2 separate regions of the Homo sapiens genome follow, and region 1 is linked to region 2. The links are contacts of gene promoters, found by promoter capture Hi-C in human tissues and cell types (Jung and others, 2019). All regions are on one chromosome and are shown on one strand. The core of a region is centred on a gene start or on the middle of the fragment in contact, and the rest is flanking DNA. Distances in the headings are between cores, read along the strand shown. Region 1 holds the start of LHX6 (LIM homeobox 6). Region 2 holds the start of PTGS1 (prostaglandin-endoperoxide synthase 1).

What was found. The method cuts DNA at HindIII sites, captures the fragments that hold promoters and counts their contacts. A contact is called where the count stands out against the background at its distance.
Region 1: a contact is called between the fragment with the promoter of LHX6 here and the fragment with the promoter of PTGS1 in region 2, in 1 of the 25 tissues and cell types used here (adrenal gland).

Annotation. Positions count from the first base shown.
Region 1 is chr9:122,226,699-122,231,404 of GRCh38, forward strand. LHX6 (LIM homeobox 6) reads right to left here and starts at 2,259. Exons shown (of 10, transcript NM_014368.5): 1 at 1,959-2,259; 2 at 711-782; 3 at 150-332. The coding sequence starts at 2,042. RefSeq lists an enhancer at 1-491. The HindIII fragment of the contact is 8,045 bases long and covers 1-4,706 here.
Region 2 is chr9:122,368,473-122,373,270 of GRCh38, forward strand. It overlaps PTGS1 (prostaglandin-endoperoxide synthase 1), which reads left to right and starts at 2,552. Exons shown (of 11, transcript NM_000962.4): 1 at 2,552-2,619; 2 at 2,714-2,800. The coding sequence starts at 2,613. The HindIII fragment of the contact is 15,948 bases long and covers 1-4,798 here.

The DNA of each region.
Region 1 (4,706 bases), core at 1,009-3,508, 140 kb before region 2:
GCAGACCCTAAGTCTTGCCCAAAGCTTCGCAGTCGGGCAGCAGTGGAGCCAGGATTTGGAAGTAAGAGGACCTGCGGTGCTTCCCTGCAGTCTCCTGCGCTGCGTCCCACGCCCCGACAACACGCACGCAACACCTACCCCTGTCTCACCTTGAGCAGATATCGGTCCAGGATCTCGAGGCCGCAGCTGGAGCAGATGTTCTTGCCTGCAGACGGCACGGAGGAGGCGGCAGAGGGCGGTGAGCAGACAGATGGCGTGCTGGGCGTACATGGGGAGGCCTGACCCTCGTCCTTGTCCAGAGCTCCTGCCAGGGCCTCGGCGTCAGACTGAGCCTGCGGCGGGGGAGAGAAGGAGAGGAGCGCTGATCCGGGCACCCAGAGTTGGGGCTGCCTTGGAGACAAATCTGGGGCCCCCGAGCACCAATTGACAACGAAATCTCCCCAGGACAATGCGCCGTAGACTGAAGGACAGGGATGGAAGGGCCTATTGGAGAGGAAGGGACGGCCCCAACTTTTAACACGCGCATTCTGGGTGCTGGGAGCGGTTAAAGCCAACATTCCCTGCCGGAAAACCGAGGCTCAGAGAGGGGCGGCGCCCGCCGGGAGTCCCCCAGAGCGTGAGCAGCAGTTCGTGGCCGGAAAACCTGGCCAGGTCCCCAGGGCCGGGCCGCTGGAGGACTGGGCACCGCAGGCAGGGCCAAACGGACTCACCATGGCGGGCGGCGCGGTCCCTTCAAGACAGCGGGTGGTCGCTTTGCAGCCGGACCCTGGCTGGGCCATCACCTGGGGGAGGGGGGGAGGGAACGCAGGCGGCGGCGGCTGCTGAACTGGCTCCGCACAGCCTGAGCCCAGCGCCTCCCCGCGCCTGTTATATAAACCGGCGCCGAACAATGAGTCCTAACTTTGTAGTGGGCATTTAAAGCCCTTCCCCACAAAAGCGGTGTCTCTCTAATGAAGCAATTTGAATTTGGATTGGATTTTTTCCCTCTCTCTCCCCCTCTCCCTGCACTTAACCCGTGGCTCTTGAAGTAATCGCTTAGTTCCCTTGCAATCCAAGCCTCTGAGGGGGGAAGAAAAACACGCGCACACACACACAAACTACCTGCAATTAGAAATTGTCGTGAATGCCCAAGATAAGAGGTAGCCAGAGTGTCAATTCCAACTGTCAATCAGTGAGATCCATCAGGCCGCCCAAAGAATTGCAAATTTGATTTTTTAATGGTAGTAATTAAAAATCGAATTTTTTCTCTCTCCACCCGCCCCCCCACCCCACTCCCCTTCCTCGCTCCCTTCTCCTCTCGGCACAAAATGCAAAAAGGAGAAAAGAGAGAAAGAAAGAAAATAAAAAAGAGATGGGTGAGGGGCGGAGGGTGGTTGAAGAAAAGAAAACCCCGAGCGCGGTGAGCACCCGCCCGCCCGCCCGCCTGACACGCGCGGCGAAATTGAAGCAGCTATATTGACACGGATTCAGGCGCCTTTCGAGGGCCAGTCGGAGGGAAACCCGGAGCAAAAAGAGAGCGAGATCGGGGCGAAACGGGACCAAAAAGAGAAAAGAGAGGCGCTCAAGGGGAGGAAAAAGCACCCTCCAGCCCCTCGGCGCGCCGGGTACCGGCCCCGCGTCGGGATTCTCAGCGCTGCGCCGGCACAACCCCCGGCGCATCGGCGCTATCAGCGCCTATTCAGACGGACAATACCGGCCTCGCCTCCTCTTGATTCGCCTGTGTCTTTACTAAATCGCTTTTTGAGAAATTCCTCCAACATTTGCATAATGTGTTCCCGCTTTCCGCGACCCCCCCCCCCCGCTCGCGCGCGCGCTCCCACACTCACAAGCACACACTCACAGGCGCACCCTCGTACCCCTCCTTCCTGCAACCGCCCGCCACCCTGCTCGGCCCGGCTGGGTCCCGGACCCTGCCCGACCCCGGCCCGGGCCGCTCACCCAGTCGTTCGCCGGCTCACCTGGTCGGTGGCGGGGCCGCCCTCGGCCGGCAGCCGGCAGCCCTCGGGCAACGCCGGGGCGGCGTTCTCATGCTTCCAGTACATGGGCCGGGGAACCTCGGGCTCAGCGGGCGCGCAGCGCGGAGAGCTGCGCCGAGGGGGACCACAGCCGCAGTGGGAGCAGAGGCTGCTGCAGGAGCAGGAGGAGAGCCGAGGCGCCGGCCCCGCCGCCCCGGGCCCGGCCTCAGCCCCCGCCCCCGGCCCGCGCGCAGCCCCGGCCTCCCTGGCTGCTGCCGCCGCTGCCTCGGAAGAAGGTCCCGACAAACTTGGAGAGGCCCCCGCCCCCTCCTTCTTCTCCTCCTCCCCCTCTTGGTAGTCCTCCTCCTCCTCTCCCTCCTCCTTGTCCTCCTCCCCCTCCAGCTGCAACGGCGGCCGCCCTGCCGCTGGAGCCCCGCTCGGTTCAAGATGAGTCATGCGTGACCAATCCCCTCCCCGCCAAGGGAGAGCAAGACACACACGACGAGGCAGAGACCCAGAGAGAGAGACACACACACAGACACAGAGACACACAGAAACTCAGAGCTGCCGACAGAGAGACTCGGAGACACGCCAGTACACAAAGGCACCGGCGGGCACACATCCACCCAGCTCTCACTACCGCTCCTCCCTCAAGGGGCACCCATCTTCCTCAGACACTGCCCCACTCACAGGTACAGGAGGGACCCATGGCCATACCATCTGCGGAGATAGATTCCGTAGGAGGTCACACGTTATTACACTGTGTTGATGCAATCCCATGCCTGGTACATTTGTGTACACACTAATGTAAGTGATTACCTGTTCACATCATTTACACGGGCACGAGGCACCACACTTACTCTCACACACCTGCACAGATACCTCTGCTCTATAAGAACCAGACAGTGCACCAGCTCCCAGGGACTGAGGTGAAACGGGAGGGTAGTTTCCCTGAATTCTCTTGGAAGGGATTGCTTGGCACATTCCCCTTCCCTTCAGGATTTGCTTAACCACACAGTCCAATGCCCATCCCTTCTTCTCTAGGGTTCTACTGACAATGAGAATGGTAGGGAAGGCAGGAAGGCCCAGGCATTTAGACAGAAGACACTGCCCCCAGACACACAGACACAGAACCTTCAAACCCAAAGATGGAGCCTTACACACACTAACGCCCTGCAGCATACACAAGTGGACACTTAGAGTCTCAGCCCCCTTCTCCACACACAAACTGAGCCTAAAGAGACACATGTAAACATACATCATCTAAAAACAAATAAGCACACTCAGACATAGATCCAGCCCTACAGACACCATGACAGCCTACCCTCACCACATCACACATGTCATCACCTCCATAATTGCCCTCATTTACAGATGTAAACACCCCCCCACACACAATTGTTCTTCCATTTGTACACACAGCCATACTCAAGAGGGCACAGATTTTCACAGAGCTCCAAACCCATGTATAACCTTATGTCCTCTACTCAGGCACCCTCAAATATGTACTTACATCCTTACAGATGGTGAGACAACTATTGATAGGCATTTATAGGCAGACACATCACACACACTTCTGCAGCCATAGATTCCCAATAGTTATAGTCTCAGTTTGCACACACACAGGCAGGTTCTGACAGGCGCAGGTAGTAGAGGATGCCTGCACACCAACACGATACTAAAGATCCACACCCATATTCCCCAAAGATACAAATATCTGTTCCTTTACTGGCATCAAGGTACACAAAAATAGCCCCAGCCTCAGCTAATGGCATTTCCCGCCCTCTGCATCCCAGTCATTCATTGCTCTCAGACACAGAAATTCAGAGTGAAAAGAGTTTCTCTTTGAACCCTAATCTTTTATACGAAGAGAACAAGTTGCAATGTGAAAGCGGGTGAGGTGTATGCATAGGTACACATGTGTACACACATACACATGCATTCTCAAACATGAATACAGAAGAACAACCCCTCCCTCTCAAATATCTCCTTTGCACATAATAATTTCAGCTACTACTGGGATTATTCCCAGTTATTACAGCTACTAATCTGTGCCAGGCATGATACGAGGCATTTTACAATCGTGATCTCATTTTCTTTTCACAATAATCCCGTGAGGTAGCATCTCTCAGCGTGCTTGTTTTACTGATCAAGAGACTGAGGTTCAGAGAGTTCATGTGATATATCCAAAATGGTGCACATGGCTAATTGCCAGAACCAAGGACTTAAAACCACATTCATCTCACATTAGAGCTCATACTCTTGATTTCTAGGCTGCAGACATGACCATGTTTACTTTCTGCACACACACATGTGCACACACACACACACACACACATACACACACACTCCACATTATCTGTTAAAAGACCTGGATGTGACTCCCAGCCTCACCACTTATAGGCTCAGCCTGTTTTCTCATCGGCAAAATGGGAATAACAATAGGACCTGCTTTACCTCCTTCTCTTCCTCCCCTTTGGGTGGCTGGGGGAATTGAAAGGTTAATAAACGTTATAGAATGCTGCACATATGCCAGATTTGTGAGTGCAGAAGGGCCCCAGGAAAGAAGACCATGAAGATCGTACTGGCTTTGCAAAACTTCTTAGACATGAGCCATGGAAGAGGCTTGAGCTAAAACTAAAGGGCAGGTGAAATTTGGATGGGTTCAGGGAGAAGAAGAAAGTATTTCAGGTAGAGAGAGGACCACAAAGGTTCAGAGGCTGGACAAACAAGCTGCTGCACTCTAATGAG
Region 2 (4,798 bases), core at 1,302-3,801:
CCTTGGGGCTACAAGAGTGACCAGGACTCTTATAGCCTCATAATGTTTGGGGGCAGAGGGACAATGTGATCAGGAGTGGCACTGCTGTGGCCAGGGAAGGCACAGGGGCTTCCTAGAGGAGAGAAGGGGGAGGAGGAGGCATGTTAGAGGAGGCCTACCAGGGGACATGGGAGGTGGACTTGCCCTATAAGTGGAAGCTCACAATCTTGAGGACTAGGATGGTGACACCAGTCCTAGGCATTTAGACTATAGCTTTGCAGTAGGGAGCAGGAAAAGGTGGCCCTGTGCTGTGGTCTCTTTCCCAGGGCTGGGGCAAGGGCTACCCCAGACCTCTCCCCTGTGTATCCAGCTGCATGCTGGGGCGGTTGGGGGTGCTGGCCCATGGGCCAAGCTGGAGAAGGCAGGGAAGGTTTGATCCTCCTCATTCCTTGAAGTGGATCAAATACAAGAAGCCCAAATTCAAATTCCACCTACCCATGCCAGCTCCCCTTCCCTGGATATTACCACCAGCATTGAGCCAGAAGGCTAGGTGTCCTCAGCACCTTTCTTCCCCTAAGCTCTAGTGCTAATCGGTCACCAAGCCCTGGCACTTCTGCCACCATTTCTCTCATCTACCTTCTCCCCACTCCATGCTCTTGGTCCTGCCTCATCCCTGGAGGGCTGCCTCGGCACCCTGCCTGCTCTCTCAGACTCCATCCTCTCCTGTATTGCAGCTGTGTTGAGATCTGTGGTGCTGGTCACAGAGCCTGGCTGCAGTGAGGGCTCAATTGCTCCATGCTGGAACTGGACCAGTCCTCAGAGACCATCTGATCTGCTCATTCTGTTGTTCAAATGGGGAAACAGAGGCCCAGTGAGGCCTAGCGGCTTGTTTAAGGTCACGCTATGGAAGAAGTGACTTGAACTCACTTCTGATTCTGAGGTGAAGGCTCTTCCCATCAGTGCCAGGGCCACACAAGTGTTTCTTGTTTTGAGTGCAGATGGGTGGCTTGGAAGTCAGCAGGAGGCACAGGTGTGGTGACTTGATGGGCTCAGGGCCCAAAGGGAGGGAGGGCCTGGGAGTGGAAGATGGAACCTCATTCAAGCCCGTCTCTCCTTTCTTCTCACCAGAAACTCCCCCTTTCTTTGGACAACTGGACCCCCACACCTCCACCCTGTCCCCATCCCTTTTGCTGATAATCCCATCTCCTTGCCCTGTAAATGCTAGGGGGCCCTTGATTTGGGGAGGAAGGGAAGGCTGAAGCCGGTCCCGGCACCCTGAGAGCCCCAGGGCCCTCCAATGCCCCACTCCTTCTCCAGGTCTGCCCTGGCTTGCTCTGTCTCCCTAGGGCAGCTGGCTTTTGTCCCAGGGGAGCATGGGAACAGCTTGGGTGAGAATGGGGGAGGGGCTTCCCAGCAGGTTTCACCTCTCCCACCTGGCATAATTTCTACCCTGCACCCAGTGATGCCCAGGAGCCAGCACAAGAACCTCTGAGCTCTCCTGCCGGCTTTCCCCACTGTGGGGCCCACAGGATGGCTGGGTGTGCTGGGGAAACTGAGGGAGATGACTTGTGGGTGCCAGCACCATGGGACTTTGGGTGATCTTGGACCTATTCCTTCCTCCTTCTAGGTGCTTCCTGAGCTGGCGAAAAGGAGAGCTGGATGCTGGGATTCTATAAATTCGGCGGTGGATGTGAGTCTAGCTACAGCATGGACCCTGGCCAGCCCTGGAATCTGAGTTCAGAGATCTTTGAAAAAATGCCTTCCGATAACTGAGCACCTACTACATGCTGGACACTGCACCAGGAGATTTGTGTGCATTCCCTCATTGAATCTTACAACCACCCTCTGGGATGGTTTTTGCTATTAAGCCGATTTTATAGATGAGAATACTGAGGGCTAGAAAAGATAAGTACCTTGTCCAAGGTGACACGGCCAGTAAGCTGTGGAGTCTGGATTTGAACTAGGCTCTCTTGGAGTTTGGAGCCCGGTCTTTTCATTTCTGGCAGAGACCTGTGGCTTCAGGGGGCGGAGCCCAGCCCATGGGGGAAGTAAGTCCTTCCTGTTAGATCTGTCTGAGGAGTAGTGAGTTTCTCATCTAGGAAACCATCAGCAGGCCAGGCTGGACTGCCCCATTTCTAGCCCCCTTTCTTCTCTGCAGACTGCCCTGTTTCTAGCCCCTTTTCTTCTCTACCCTTTTCTGTAGAGTGCGTTAGACCCATTTTACAGAAGGGGACTCTGAGACCCTTTCTTCTCTGCGGGGCAGGGTATGTGGTTCAGACGAGCCGCTTCCATCCCCAGTTCTGTCCCTAAGCCCTGGGTGACCTCAGCATTGAGCATCGTCTCTGAGCCTCAGTTTCCTGTCTATATCTAGTGCCACCAGGCATCAGAAACGTAAGTGCTTCAAGGATCTTGGGTGAAAAGCCGCTTTAGCGGCGAGCATACACTAATTAATAAAATGCCTTGGCCGGGGCTGGGCAGAGGAAGTAAGCGGGCAGCCGAGGTGACAGCTGGAGGGAGGAGCGGGGGTGGAGCCGGGGGAAGGGTGGGGAGGGGATGGGCTGGAGCTCCGGGCAGTGTGCGAGGCGCACGCACAGGAGCCTGCACTCTGCGTCCCGCACCCCAGCAGCCGCGCCATGAGCCGTGAGTGCGACCCCGGTGCCCGGTGGGGAATTTTCTTGGCCTCCTGGTGGAGCCTTGAATGCCAGGCTCAGCCCCTCATCTCTCTCCTCTGCAGGGAGTCTCTTGCTCTGGTTCTTGCTGTTCCTGCTCCTGCTCCCGCCGCTCCCCGTCCTGCTCGCGGACCCAGGGGCGCCCACGCCAGGTAGGCGGCCCCATCCCTCCCCAAGGGAATCCCCGGTCTTGCGCCCCTGGCCTGGTTTCAACCCCCTCCTTTCCCCTCCAGCGGGCCCAGCTTCCCCTTTCTGCTCGCGGTGCTGAGAAAGACTGAGGCTGAGTCTTTTGGTGGGATGGGGGCTCCCTGAAGCCCCCCCGGCGGTGTGGCCTTGGCTAATGGGCTATCTAGTTCTTTCAGGGGAAACAGCAGACTGGGATCTGGTGCCAACTTGGGGAGAAGGGACAGTCCCTATCCATCCCCCTCACCTGTTCTGGGCCCCAGATGTCTAAGCAGCCTCTGCACCCAACAACCCCGCTGTTTCCTATAGGGGCCTCTTTGGGAGGAAGCCGCAGGCACCAAGGGAAATGAGTTCCCTTTCTCCAGCCTCTAACCGTCTGGGAACCCATCCTGATTCCCATTGCCAGTGGAGAAGGTCTCCCCTGGTGAAGACTTCGGGAGAACATGGGAGATGGAAATACATTTAGGAGCCGGGATGCTTCATCTGGGGTTTAAGAGATCCCCATTGAGCAAATGAGGAAACCGAGGCTCAGTAGGTGCCATGATTCCCCAAGCTCACAAAATACATGGTGGGCCCAGGATCTGAACTCAGGTCTGTCTGCGTCCACACACTTCGCAAGGTCTTTCCACAGAAAGCTGCTTCTACCCACAATGGACCCGGAGCCACTCTGGGTTTCATGGGGGAGGTTGATGGGGAAATTCCGCCCTTCCCTCCCCCATGCATGTGCCAGGTTCCAGGTGAAGGAATTCAGCTCCTCGCTCAGCCAACCTTCCTCCCCCAGCTCGCTGCTTGTGTGTGTGCGTGTGTGTGAGCATGTGTCCCAGTTGGATATAGTTTCCTCCACCACCTAGCTGTGTAAAATCTCTAAAATGAGGCCCAGAGAGGGCAGGAGGGAGCAGAGGGAGTCCGCACTTTCTGCTGTGATGCTCTAAGGATCTGGTGCGTGGGGGAAAGAGGAAAGATATGTACATGGATTTTGGATCAGACCAAGTTTCCTGAAACGGGCTTTGGGTGGGTGGCATTTAGGGGACCCAAAGAGAGGACGGAGGGTGCTCTAGGAAAGGGATTGCGTTGAATAAAAGTCTGGTTTATGGGAAGAGGAGGAGGAAGACTCATGTGGCCAGCACTTTAAAGTTTACAAAGGTTGGTTGTGGACATCCACCTCTTTGGTGCTCTCAACAGCCCTGCCAGAGAGATGCGTTAGACCCAGTCTACAGAAGGGGACTCTGAGGCCCAGAGGGAGTGAAGCCACTTGTCTGAATCCTCACAGTGAGCTGGTGGTGGGGAGTAGAAGGGGCTCTTCAGGTTGCCTCGCTGACCCATCTTGTCAGTCCCTGGATCAGCCCAGCACTTCCTCTGAGGCCCCATCTGGCCTCATCCAGGCACTCTTGGTATACAGGTCCCACCCGTCTGTATTCTTTTTTAGTCCATTCACTAATGCACAATGAGCCATGGTCTGTGCTATTTTGTTTTTTGCCTTTTCTGTTTCCTTTTGTATAATAAATGTTTACACGGAATTGTTTTTTTTTATCCCCAAGGGTTATTTATGCCAGTCTTTGGCTGGGGCCTGGAGACACGGAGCTGGGAGGAGCTGACAGGCTGATGGTGGAGCCAGAAATGCCAACAGACTGTCATCCAAGGGGACCAGGGCTGTGCGGAGCTCATGGGAGGAAGCAGGGGTATAGGGAGCCCAGGGAAGGGAGCAGGGGTGTGCGGAGCTCAGGGGAGGGAGCAGCTGCCTCTCAGTGCGAAGAATTGAGGGAGGCTTCTTGGATCTGATGACTTTTGGACTGGACCTCGAAGGAGGTGGCGGGTGGGGGAAACACTAAGAGACTCGACCAGGAAACACCGTAAGGGTAATGTGGAGCAGGAGGCTGAGGTTGGATGCGTAATGTGGGGATGAGACTGGAGGCCAGAAAACTGGTACCGAGGCTCCTGCAAGGATCTAGGAAAGAACGAATGACTGG